2 separate regions of the Homo sapiens genome follow, and region 2 is linked to region 1. The links are contacts of gene promoters, found by promoter capture Hi-C in human tissues and cell types (Jung and others, 2019). All regions are on one chromosome and are shown on one strand. Each heading gives the region's core, a stretch centred on a gene start or on the middle of the fragment in contact. The rest is flanking DNA. Distances are from core to core; before and after follow the strand shown.

Region 1 (5,994 bases), core at 1,214-3,713:
TCTTCTGGTTTTAACTTTCAGGAAAGTTAATTTCACTATTTTCTTTTGATGCAGCCCATTTTAACCCTTTAAAAATATATTTCTTAGAGACAAAGATCTATATTATTTCTCGTACTGTTCATTTCAGGTTGGACCAGGTAGACATGGGGAAAAGCAGATGCAGAGGGTTGTGTTTTACAGTGGTTATCATTCATACTAAGTTTATATCTGTATTAAGTTGCATTGCACACAAAGTTTGGAAACAGTATTTCTGAAAGAATTTTCAGCATGAGTAAAGTCAGTAAAAATTGGTACAAACACTATACTTCTTAAGGTAATCACACTTTTGTTCTCACTCAATGAAGCTGACTGTTCATGTATTCTAAGAGTGCATTTTAGAGTAGGATACTACTTGAAACAGAAGAATGTAAGAAAATCATGCTTTTATTGCTCCATTGTTCTTTATAAAGCAAATGATAGGAAAAAAGGAGGGTGAATGAACCATTCTTGTCCACTTCTCCCCCAATATTATATTATTAAAACTGGAGTGGTTTAGCAGAAACGATACATTTTTCTGTGTTACTTGGTGGCTCGGTATCCTTTTCTGGTTGAGTATTATAGGAGATGAAGACCCCTGTGAAATATGAAAAATGACAATCCGCCACTGTTTTATATCACAGGCCAAGTATCTCATAGGATCCAGCGAAGGTTGAATGTCTGGGCAGAAGATCTCAGGTCATTAACAGAAAAAGCTCTTTGGCATCCTGTGTCATAGAACAAAGTGTCAAACCTGTTCCCATTACTAGGTGCCTGTGGTGCTTTTCTTAAATAATCAGTCCCATTCAGACAGACATTTTAAGGTCTCTGATCATCTTTCTATTTCACAAGCAGTATTTTTTTAAGGCTAAATGGCACTAGAAGCAGAATGTTTTTAAAGTAAGGTTTAGAAAAGAACTTGGTATATTCCAAAGCTAGCCGGATTCTTTCTCATTTTCCCAAAGGTCAGACAGAAGTTCAGCTCTGACAGCATTGTAGCTGGGAATCCAGATAGAGGCAGGCAACATTTGCTCCAGCTCTACACTCCAGTCTGGGAGGCCTGGGAGCTCCTGTACAAATAGGAATCAATTTTAGGATAGCCTTATGAATCCTAGAGGATGGAATTAGACAAAGCTTTTTTTGCCCCTGCTTTGACCATTTGGCCTCAGATACGGGTGCCCCAATACTTTAATTTTTCTTCTTTAAAGTTTAAAGTTTTTAAGAAAATGAAATAGCTGGTAAGTGAAAATAGTCAAGAAAACATTGTAATTATGCTATATGTACATGTGCGTTTTTTCTGAAGTGGATTTTCAGAGACACAGTTAGAAGGTGTGCTTCACTGCTTTATTCTGCATATGCCCCAATGAATTCCAGGAGGTCACAGCAGCAGAGTACAACTTTTAAGATTAGAAGAGCTTGCTCTTTAAAGAGTTATTTTTAGCTGGAAGGGAGAGTGTAGACCTCAAAGTGCTGGTAGGTATGTTCTACAGTGGGGATCTAATTTGGAGGTCTTTGGAGATCTGATTCCAGGGGAAGGTCTCAGTGGGGCTCCTCTTGCCTCTGCTGCAGGACTGGGTGGCTCTGCTGATTGTCACTGCCTTGTTTGAGGGGTGGTCTCCATCATCCAGGGGAATTCAGCCTGGGACCTATTGTCTAGAGTGTACATTGTATCTAGGCCCAGACCTGCCAGAGTGTCCACAGCCACACTTGAGGAAAGGACATTCCAGACTCATTAAATATCACAATTCGATTTTGATGTCACTAACTCAGGTTCCTGAGATAAATTTCCATACAATTCCTACAGATTGATATGGATATGTGCATCACCCCAGGAGAGGCTCTGGTGAAGGGCAGGCTTGGAGATGCAATGGGCAAGGTTGGGGAAGAGATACCCTCTTCCGGGTTCCGATTTGTGCCCTGAATTTGGGCAAGCTCAAGGAGCACTGGCAACCCCACCAGCACCAGAAGAAGCTGGTCCTGGCTGTCTCCCGAGACTGGTGAAACTGCTCTGGTGGTGGTGCACTGGAAGGGTGGAGGAAAAAAAACAAAAAACAAAACAGGGTTTGAGGGGGAATGGCAGGGACACGGTAGAGGCACAGAGATACAGAGACCTAGAGTCAGAAATCCTGAGTGAGACACACAGAAAGGCAGAAAAAGGCAGAAAGATGCTGAGGGACAGAGACGCAGACCACAAGAATGACAGAAGAAGGAGACAGAGAGAGAGAGGGAGTGAGAAAGATACTGAGAAATAGGGACAGTAAGGGAGAGACTGAGAAAGACAGAGACAGCCAGAGTCGGAGCACAGAGGCCGAGTCTGGGAGACGCTGGTTGAGTGGGAGGTGTCAGTAGCGAGGGAGGTGGTGACGGCTCGAAGCATCCCCCGTCCTCCTCCTCCCCCTTCACGCTCAGCCCAGCCGGCGGCGAGGAGTCCAGAGGCCAAGGTCGCCCAGTCCTCTCGGCTGTCTCGAGCTGAATGGCTGGCAGTCTGCGGCTCCCCCGCCTCCGGCCCGGCAGCCACAGGTCGGAGGCGCCCGGCGTCGGCGCTCGAGGCCGGCAGGGGCGCCCTGCACCCTCCCGCGCCCTTCCCCGCCCTACGCGACTCCCGGCTGCTCTTCCCGCCACTCCCCTGGGCTTTGCGATCTTCCCTACGCCCCCCGGGAAGGGGGCGCTGCGGCCACCGAAGACACCGCGGGAGCCACTTGTCCCTGTGGGCCCAGCCCGCGAGAGCCTGAGAGCCGGATCTGTTTACACAGGGTACTAATTAGTCTTTGAGGAATCATTCACCCACGTGCCAAAGTAATTGTCCGTGTCAGGAAGGTAGGCGTGCCAAGCCGCGGCTCTGCGGAGAAACCACGACCACCGCGGCCGCCGGAAACCCAAAGCGCTCCAGAGCGTCCCCGGGTGGCCGGGCAGCACCAGGGACAGCGCCCGGGACTCCACTGGGGACCGGCTCCTGGGCTTCCCAGCGTCGCGGGTAGAGGTACAGCTGCTCCGTGTGCCGCAGGCTCCAGATTCTCGCCACCCCACCCCTCCCTCAGAAACTCGGACTGCTCTCGTCTGCCGTGTGGTTCTCTTTTCTTCCGAAAGGCCAGTGTCTTATCTCTCCACTTCAAGTCCAGAGGACTTGCTCAGTCTCCTCCCCTTAAGTCATTTCCACCATCCTCAGGCAGCTGTGGGAAGCCGAGAGTCCTGGACTGTTCGTCCGGGTGCCAGCGCTGGCAGTCCCAGTCCGTCCGGTGCAGCAGCCCGGCGCATTCCCCTCTCTCCCTCCCTCTTGCTCTCCCTCCCTTTCTGTCTTCCTCTCTTTCCTCCTCTACTGCTCCCTCCCTCTCTTGCCTCTTAAGTTTCCTGCACCGTGAATCCAACTGTGCCAAGCCTTGGCTCCCGCGAACCAATCCTGAGCGCGACCCGGGCACTGGGACGGCGACTCCGCCAAAGCTGGACGAGGCAGCCGGACCCGTCTGCGCTCGAGCATGGAGACGGAGCGCCTGGGAGGGCACGTCCGGGGCGCTGGAGACGCCAGGCCCGAGTAGCTTCTCCATGGAGCCTGCCCAGAGCGGTCCCTTCTCGCAGGATTCGCCCCAAGTCCTGTGCGGTACGTACCCTTTGCCTCCGCTGTTCCCGGAGGGTACACCTGGGAGCGGGGTGGTGGGCACGAGGAAGGGACGGCAGGGAGGGGCGCTGGTTAGGAAAGAGAACAAGCCTGGCAGGTGACCCTCACAGCTCGGAGGAGGCTTCTTCTCTAGAAGTTAGCGACCGGCTGTACCCTTTGGCTCGAAAAAAGTAGTGCTAGAGATGTGACTGTGAGCATTCGTGGGTATCTCTGTGTGCGCCAGGGGTTCGAATGGGTAAACTGATCCCTGCTTTCCTGTATGCAAATTGCATTCTCTTTCCCCACCCCCACTTCACCGAACGTGTTGAGGTACCTAGCACCTAATCGCGGTCAGTTCTACCTACCTCTTCCTCTCACCGCGCCCCCCTCGCTCAATCTCTCTCTCTCCCTTTATCTTTCCCCTCTATCTCTCTCTGCTGGTGTGTACGTGTGTGAGCACTGCCAGGGCTGGCGAAGAACCAGCCGCCGCCTTTAGTCCGAGCCGCCGGGCCACCCAACACAAGGGCAGGTCTCGCTGCCGGAGAAGCCTGGGCTCCGAACCAGCCTGCACGCGGCTCAGTGTGCTCCGCCGCCTGGGAACTCGCACCCGAGGAGCGCAGGGGGCAAGGAGCCCCTCACCCTCCCTCTCGTCCGCCCGCCCGCCTCCCCAGCTGCGGACCGCGCGCTTGCTGGTCTCAGGCGCTGGATTTACTCGCTTTTCAATTTTTCGTACCCTCCCTCCCTTTTTTTTTTGGTCCCCCACTCCCCGCTACGACCCCCTTTCCCCGCTTGATTGTCAAGCCTAACCTTGCCCGCGTAGTCATGGGATGTCTAATTTTATTTGCATCTAGGCTGCTGAGAGCGCTCCTTGCTCTGTAAAGTGGATGTCAGGTGGATCTATGTTTCTGAAGGAACAAAGACTCAAAGAAGGCACCGCCAAGGAAGTTTGAGACGCGGGAGAATGCAGGCTGCGTGCTGGTACGTGCTTTTCCTCCTGCAGCCCACCGTCTACTTGGTAAGTCTTGGAAGGTTCGGGGCTTTCGCATTTTTACCCCGGCCGGGAGGCAAGGAAACTGGGGACACGCGGGAGAAGGGTTACGCCGCCAGTTCAGTGAGAGCAGCTTCCTAGCAGCTGTGTTGGAGCAACTTTGGCAAGCTGGTCTCTGGATTCCTGCGGATTTTCCGGGGTTCCCACCCCATTTTCTGCTCCAATCCCCCAGTCTCCTGCGCGTGATTCTTGAAAGGGGCTAGGGCGCCCCAGACACCCTAAACCCAAGGAGGTAGTGAGATGGGGTGCTTTATGTGATAGAGGGCCAACGAGAAGAAGTGGAAGGCAGGAACTCTCAGTAGCTCATGCACAGAGTTTAAACGAAGGGAAGTGGGGGTGTAGTTGGGTGGTGGAAAGAACAAATCTGCCCAGGTCTGTGAGTTTAAAAGTGAATCTACCCACCCACTTCCCCGATTTGGAGATGAGACACATAAAGAAGCGCAGTTAACTTTCTTTGACTTGTAAGGGTTCCGACAGGATAAGTTTAACTATCAGGGGTACTGCAAGCAATCGGAGTTAGGACAGAGATACTCCAGCAAACATGTCCACCTTCCTCTCGTCTCGACCTCCCCTTTTCATCAAATAACTAAATCCCATCTCCAGTGACTAGTCCATTATTAGGGAATGGTAGGCCTTGTCGCCAGGGAGAGAATTCTAAACAAAGCCGCGGTCCTTGTCCTTCAGTAGCAGAGTTTTCCGGGGGGCTGGACTTTGTACACTGCTGGAACTCGGCTCCTGGTTGAAGAGCTTTGTTGTGGTGAATTGGTAGCTGTTTGTGCCATGTTGAGACAAGGAGAATGAGATATTTCAGGTCTGGCTTCTGGGGTGGGAATGGGGGAATGGGGGTAAGGGACACTTGTGCCCTGCTGGTGAAGTTGTGTTCAGTGTCCCGACCCCCATAGCCCATCCTGGGCTGCGGGAGTGCACCGAGGGCTCGCTATGTTCTGTCTAGGGGTGAGGTGCGCTAAAGCAGCCCGAACTCTCTGATGGGCTACACCTCTGATTGGAGGTGATACTGGCGCTCCTCAATCCCAAGAGCCTTAGATAGAACCCATAAGCCTGAAAGAATTGCCATCCCTACAATTGACAGCGTTTCTCGGCCGTTGCCCTGGTGCATGTGGCTGCAAAGCTGCGAGTTGTGTGAATTCTGTGTATGTGAGTGACACGTATATATATGTGTGTGTGAATGTGTATTTAACCGATTTCAGCTTCAATCCAAGAACCCTCAATGTTGCCTGTCTTTGCCCCTTTATCGCCTGACCGTAGCAGCCGCGGACGCCAGAGGGCGCTGCGCATCAGCGTCCTCGCCCACAGGACACCTTGGGGTAAACAGGTGAAA
Region 2 (5,872 bases), core at 123-2,622, 1.9 Mb after region 1:
TTAAATGACCTGATGGAGCTGAAAACCACAGCACAAGAACTTCATGACGCATGCACAAGCTTCAGTAGCCGATTTGATCAAGTGGAAGAAGGTATCAGTGATTGAAGATCAAATTAATGAAATAAAACAAGAAGAGAAGTATAGAGAAAAAAGAGTAAAAAGAAATGAACAAAGCCTCCAAGAAATATGGGACTATGTGAAAAGACCAAATCTATGCTTGATTGGTGTACCTGAAAGTGATGGGGAGAATGGAACCAAGTTGGAAAACACTTTGCAGGATATTACCAAGGAGAACTTCCCCAACTTAGCAAGGCATGCCAACATTCAAATTCAGAAAATACAGAGAACACCACAAAGATACTCCTGGAGAAGAGCAACCTCAAGACACATAATTGTCAGATTCACCAAGGTTGAAATGAAGGAAAAAATGTTAAGGGCAGCCAGCAAGAAATGTCAAGTTACCCACAAAGGGAAGCCCATCAGACTAACAGCGGATCTCTTGGCAGAAACCCTACAAGCCAGAAGAGAGTGTGGCCCAATATTCAACATTCTTAAAGAAAAGAATTTTTAACCCAGAATTTCATATCCAGCCAAACTAAGCTTCATAAGTGAAGGAGAAATAAAATCCTGTACAGATAAGCAAAAGCTGAGAGATTTTGTCATCACCAGGCCTGCCTTACAAGAGCTCCTGAAGGAAGCACTAAACATGGAAAGAAACAACCGGTACCAACCACTGCAAAAACATGCCAAATTGTAAAGACCATAGATGCTAGGAAGAAACTGCATCAATTAACGGGCAAAACAACCAGCGAATATCATAATGACAGGATCACATTCACAAATAACAATATTAACCTTAAACGGAAATGGGCTAAAATGCCCCAATTAAAAGACACAGACTGGCAAATTGGATAAAGAGTCAAGACCCATCAGTGTGCTGTATTCAGGAGACCCAGCGCACTTGCAAAGACGCACATAGGCTTAAAATAAAGGGATGGAGGAAGATCTACCAAGCAAATGGAAAGCAAAAAAAAGCAGGGATTGCCATCCTAGTCTCTGATAAAACAGACTTTAAACCAACAGAGATCAAAAGAGACAAAGAAGGCCATTACATACTGGTAAAGGGATCAATTCAGCAAGAAGAACTAACTATCCTAAATATATATGCACCCAATACAGGAGCACCCAGATTCATAAAGCAAGTTCTTAGAGACTTACAAAGAGACTTAGACTCCCACACAATAATTATGGGAGACTTTAACACCCCACTGTCAATATTAGACAGATCAACGAGATAGAAGGTTAACAAAGATATCCAGGACCTGAATTCAGCTCTGCACCAAGCAGACCTAATAGACATCTACAGAACTCTCCACCCTAAATCAACAGAATATACATTCTTCTCAGCACCACATCACGCTAATTGTAAAATTGACCACATAATTGGAAGTAAAGCACCTCTCAGCAAATGTAAAAGAACAGAAATCACAACAAATTGTCTCTCAGACCACAGTACAATCAAATTAGAACTGAGGATTAAGAAACTCACTCAAAACTGCACAACTACATGGAAACTGAACAACTTGCTCCCAAATGGCTACTGGGTAAATAACAAAATGAAGGCAGAAATAGAGATGTTCTTTGAAACCAATGAGAACAAAGACACAACATACCAGAATCTCTGGGACACATTTAAAGCAGTGTGTAGTGGGAAATTAATAGCACTGAATACCCACAAGAGAAAACAGGAAAGATCTAAAATTGACACCCTAACATCACAATTAAAAGAACTAGAGAAGAAGGAGCAAACAAATTCAAAAGCTAGCAGAAGGCAAGAAATAACTAAGATCAGAGCAGAACTGAAAGAGATAGAGAAACAAAAAACCCTTCAAAAAATCGAAGAATCCAGGAGCTGGTTTTTTGAAAAGATCAACAAAATTGATAGACTGCTAGCAAGACTAATAAAGAAGAAAAGAGAGAAGAATCAAATAGATGCAATAAAAAATGATATAGGGGATATCACCACTGATCTCACAGAAATACACACTATCATTAGAATATACTATAAACATCTCTACACAAATAAACTAGAAAATTCTAGAAGAAATGGATAAATTCCTGGACACTTACACTCTCCCAGGACTAAACCAGGAAGAAGTTTAATCTCTGAATAGACCAATAACAGTCTCTAAAATTGAGGCAACAATAGCCTACCAACCAAAAAAAGTCCAGGACCAGATGGATTCATAGCCGAATTCTACCAGAGGTACAAAGAGGAGCTGGTACCATTCCTTCTGAAACTATTCCAATCCATAGAAAAAGAGGGAATCCTCCCTAACTCATTTTATGAGGCCAACATCATCCTGATACCAAAGACTGGCAGAGAAATAACAAACAAAGAGAAAGAGAATTTTAGACCAATATCCCTGATGAACATCGATGCAAAAATCCTAAAGAAAATACTGGCAAACCAAATCCAGCAGCACATCAAAAACCTTATCCACCACGATCAAGTTGGCTTCATCCCTGGGATGCAAAGCTGGTTCAACATGCACAAATCAATAAACATAATCCATCACATAAACAGAACCAATGATAAAAACCACATGATTATCTCAATAGATGCAGAAAAGGCCTTCAAAAAAAATCAACACCCCTTCATGCTAAAAACTCTCAATAAACTAGGTATTGATGGAACATATCTCAAAATAATAAGAGCTATTTACGACAAACCCACAGCCACTATCATACTGAATGGGCAATAACGGGAAGCATTCCCTTTGCAAACTGGCAAAAGACAAGGATGTCCTCTCTCACCACTCCTATTCAAGATAGTGTTGGAAGTTCTGGCCAGGGCAATCAGGCAAGAGAAAGAAATAAAAGGTATTCAATTAGGAAATGAGGAAGTCAAATTGTCCCTGTTTGCAAATGACATGATTATATATTTAGAAAACCCCATCGTCTCAGCCCCAAATCTCCTTAAGCTGATAAGCAACTTCAGCAAAGTCTCAAGATACAAAATCAATGTGCAAAAATCACAAGGATTCCTATACCCCATTAACAGACAAACAGAGAGCCAAATCATGAGTGAACTCCCATTCACAATTGCTACTAAGAGAATAAGATACCTAGGAATCCAACTTACAAGGGATGTGAAGGACGTCTTCAAGGAGAACAACAAACCACTGCTCAATGAAATAAAAGAGGCCCCAAACAAATGGAAGAATATTCCATGCTCATAGATAGGAAGAATCAATATTGGAAAATGGCCATACTGCCCAAAGTAATTTATAGATTCAATGCCATCCCCATCAAGCTACCAATGACTTTCTTCACAGAATTGGAAAAAACTAATGTTTATATGGAATCAAAAAGGAGCCCTCATTGCCAAGACAATCCTAAGCAAAAAGAACAAAGCTGGAGGCATAATGCTACCTGACTTCAAAATATACTACAAGGCTACAGTAACCAAAACAGCATGGTACTGGTACCAAAACAAATATACAGACCAATGGAACAGACCAGAGGCCTCAGAAATAATGCCACACATCTACAACCATCTGATTTTTGACAAACCTGACAAAAACAAGAAATGGAGAAAGGATTCCCTATTTAATGAATGGTGCTGGGACAACTGGCGAGCCATATGTAGAAAGCTGAAACTGGATCCCTTCCTTACACCTTATACAAAAATTAATTCAAGATTGATTAAAGACTTAAATGTTAGACTAAAACCATAAAAACCCTGGAAGAAAACCTAGGCAATACCATTCAGGACATAGGCATGGACAAAGAGTTTGTGACTAAAACACCAAAAGCAATGGCAACAAAAGCCAAAATAGACAAATGGGATCTAATTAAACTAAACAGCTTCTGCACAGCAAAAGAAACTACCATCAGGGTGAATAGTCAACCTATAGAATGGGAGAAAATTGTTGCAATCTACCCATCTGACAAAGGGCTAATATCCAGAATCTACAAGGAACTCAAACAAATTTACAAGAAAAAAACAAACAACCCCATCAAACAGTGGGAAAAGGATTTGAACAGACACTTCTCAAAAGAAGACATCTATGCAGCCAAAAGACACATGAAAAAATGTTCATCATCACTGGTCATCAGAGAAATGCAAATCAAAACCACAATGAGACACCATCTTACACCTGTTAGAATGGCAATCATTAAAAAGTCAGGAAACAACAGATGCTGCTGCAGAGGAAGTGGAGGAAAAGGAACACTTTTATACTGTTGGTGGGAGTGTAAATTGGTTCAACCATTGTGGAAGACAGTGTGGTGATTCCTCAAGCATCTAGAACTAGAATTACCATTTGACCCAGCAATCCTATTACTGGGTATATATCCAAAGGATTATAAATCCTACTACGATAAAGACACATGCATACGTATGTTTATTGTGACACTATTCACAATAGCAAAGACTTGGAACCAACCCGAATGTCCATCAATGATAGACTGGATTAAGAAAATGTGGCACATATACACCATGGAATACTATGCAGCCATAAAAAAGGATGAGTTCATGTCCTTTACAGGGACATGGATGAAGCTGGAAATCATCATTCTCAGCAAACTATCACAAGGATAGAAAACAAAACACTGCATGTTCTCACTCATAGGTGGGAATTGAACAATGAGATCGCTTGGACACAGGGCGTGGAATATCACACACTGGGGCCTGTCGGGGGGTGGGGGCTGGGGGAGGGATAGCATTAGGAGAAATACCTAATGTAAATGATGAGTAGATGGGTGCAGCAAACCAACATGGCACGTGTATACCTATGTATCAAACCTGCATGTTGTGCACATGTACCCTAGAACTTAAAGTATAATAATAAAAAAGGCAAAAAAAGGAAAAAAGAAAATGTTATATATGTGTGTGTGTGTGTGTGTGTGTGTGTGTGTGTGTGTGTGTACACACATACATACATACGTACCATGGAATACTACTCAGCCATAAAAAGTATTGAAACAATGGCATTCACAGCAACCCGGCTGGAGTAGGAGATAATTATTCCAAGTGAAGTAACTCAGGAATGGTAAACCAAACATCGTATGTTCTGACTTATAAGTGGGAGCTATGATACGAGGACGCAAAGGCATAAGAAGGATATAATGAGCTCTGGAGACTCGCAGGGAAGGGTGGGAGGTGGGTGAGGGAATAAAAGACTACATACTGGGTACAGTGTACACTGCTCATGTGGTGGGAGCACCAAAATCACCAAAATCTCAGAATTACCACTAAAGAACTTATCCATGTAACCAACTACCTGTTCCACCAAAACTATTGAAATAATAATAATAATATTAATAAAAACACTTGAGCTTTTGGGAAAGGGCAGATTGATAGTAACTAGCATTGGTACTGCCCACTCATGATTAGTCCAAGAAGTGATCATTGCCCAGAAGAAAGAAACTGTCTACGAAGCATTTCTTTCCCCAGCCATGGTCACTTCTGGCAGTGCTGCTATATCACTTCTATTCATCTTTCCCCCAAAAAACCCCACATGCATTCCTGTGCCTTCTGTTTTTGTAGTACAAGTTCTCTTAACTAACCATGTTACTGCCTTACCAGGTAAACTATGGCTCTCTATCTCTTCTTTAACTGTTCTGATTGAAAACCATGGGATATGGAATTCTTGCAGCTAAGAAGCTACTGTTGTTTGTATGTAGGCTTTCACTCTCACTAATTGAGTTATTTTTACTCATTATTAGTTATTGCTTACCAAGAATTAGGTCTACTTAATCCTAAACTGTTCATTCCAATTGTATTTATTGTTACTAGGTAATTCAATACAATATTATGCAAATTGATGAAATATAAAATAAAGCCTATTTCCACAACACACAGAAA

The links. The method cuts DNA at HindIII sites, captures the fragments that hold promoters and counts their contacts. A contact is called where the count stands out against the background at its distance.
Region 2: a contact is called between a fragment that was not itself captured here and the fragment with the promoter of NXPH1 in region 1, in 1 of the 25 tissues and cell types used here (spleen).

What each region holds. Positions count from the first base shown.
Region 1 is chr7:8,431,146-8,437,139 of GRCh38, forward strand. NXPH1 (neurexophilin 1) reads left to right here and starts at 2,464. Exons shown (of 3, transcript NM_152745.3): 1 at 2,464-3,610; 2 at 4,459-4,622. The coding sequence starts at 4,569. RefSeq lists enhancers at 3,028-3,575, 3,576-4,123, 4,124-4,671. The HindIII fragment of the contact is 8,604 bases long and covers 429-5,994 here.
Region 2 is chr7:10,373,840-10,379,711 of GRCh38, forward strand. No RefSeq gene overlaps it. Among named protein-coding and RNA genes, the nearest start is that of MGC4859, 400 kb to the right of the region's middle. The HindIII fragment of the contact is 4,586 bases long and covers 1-3,665 here.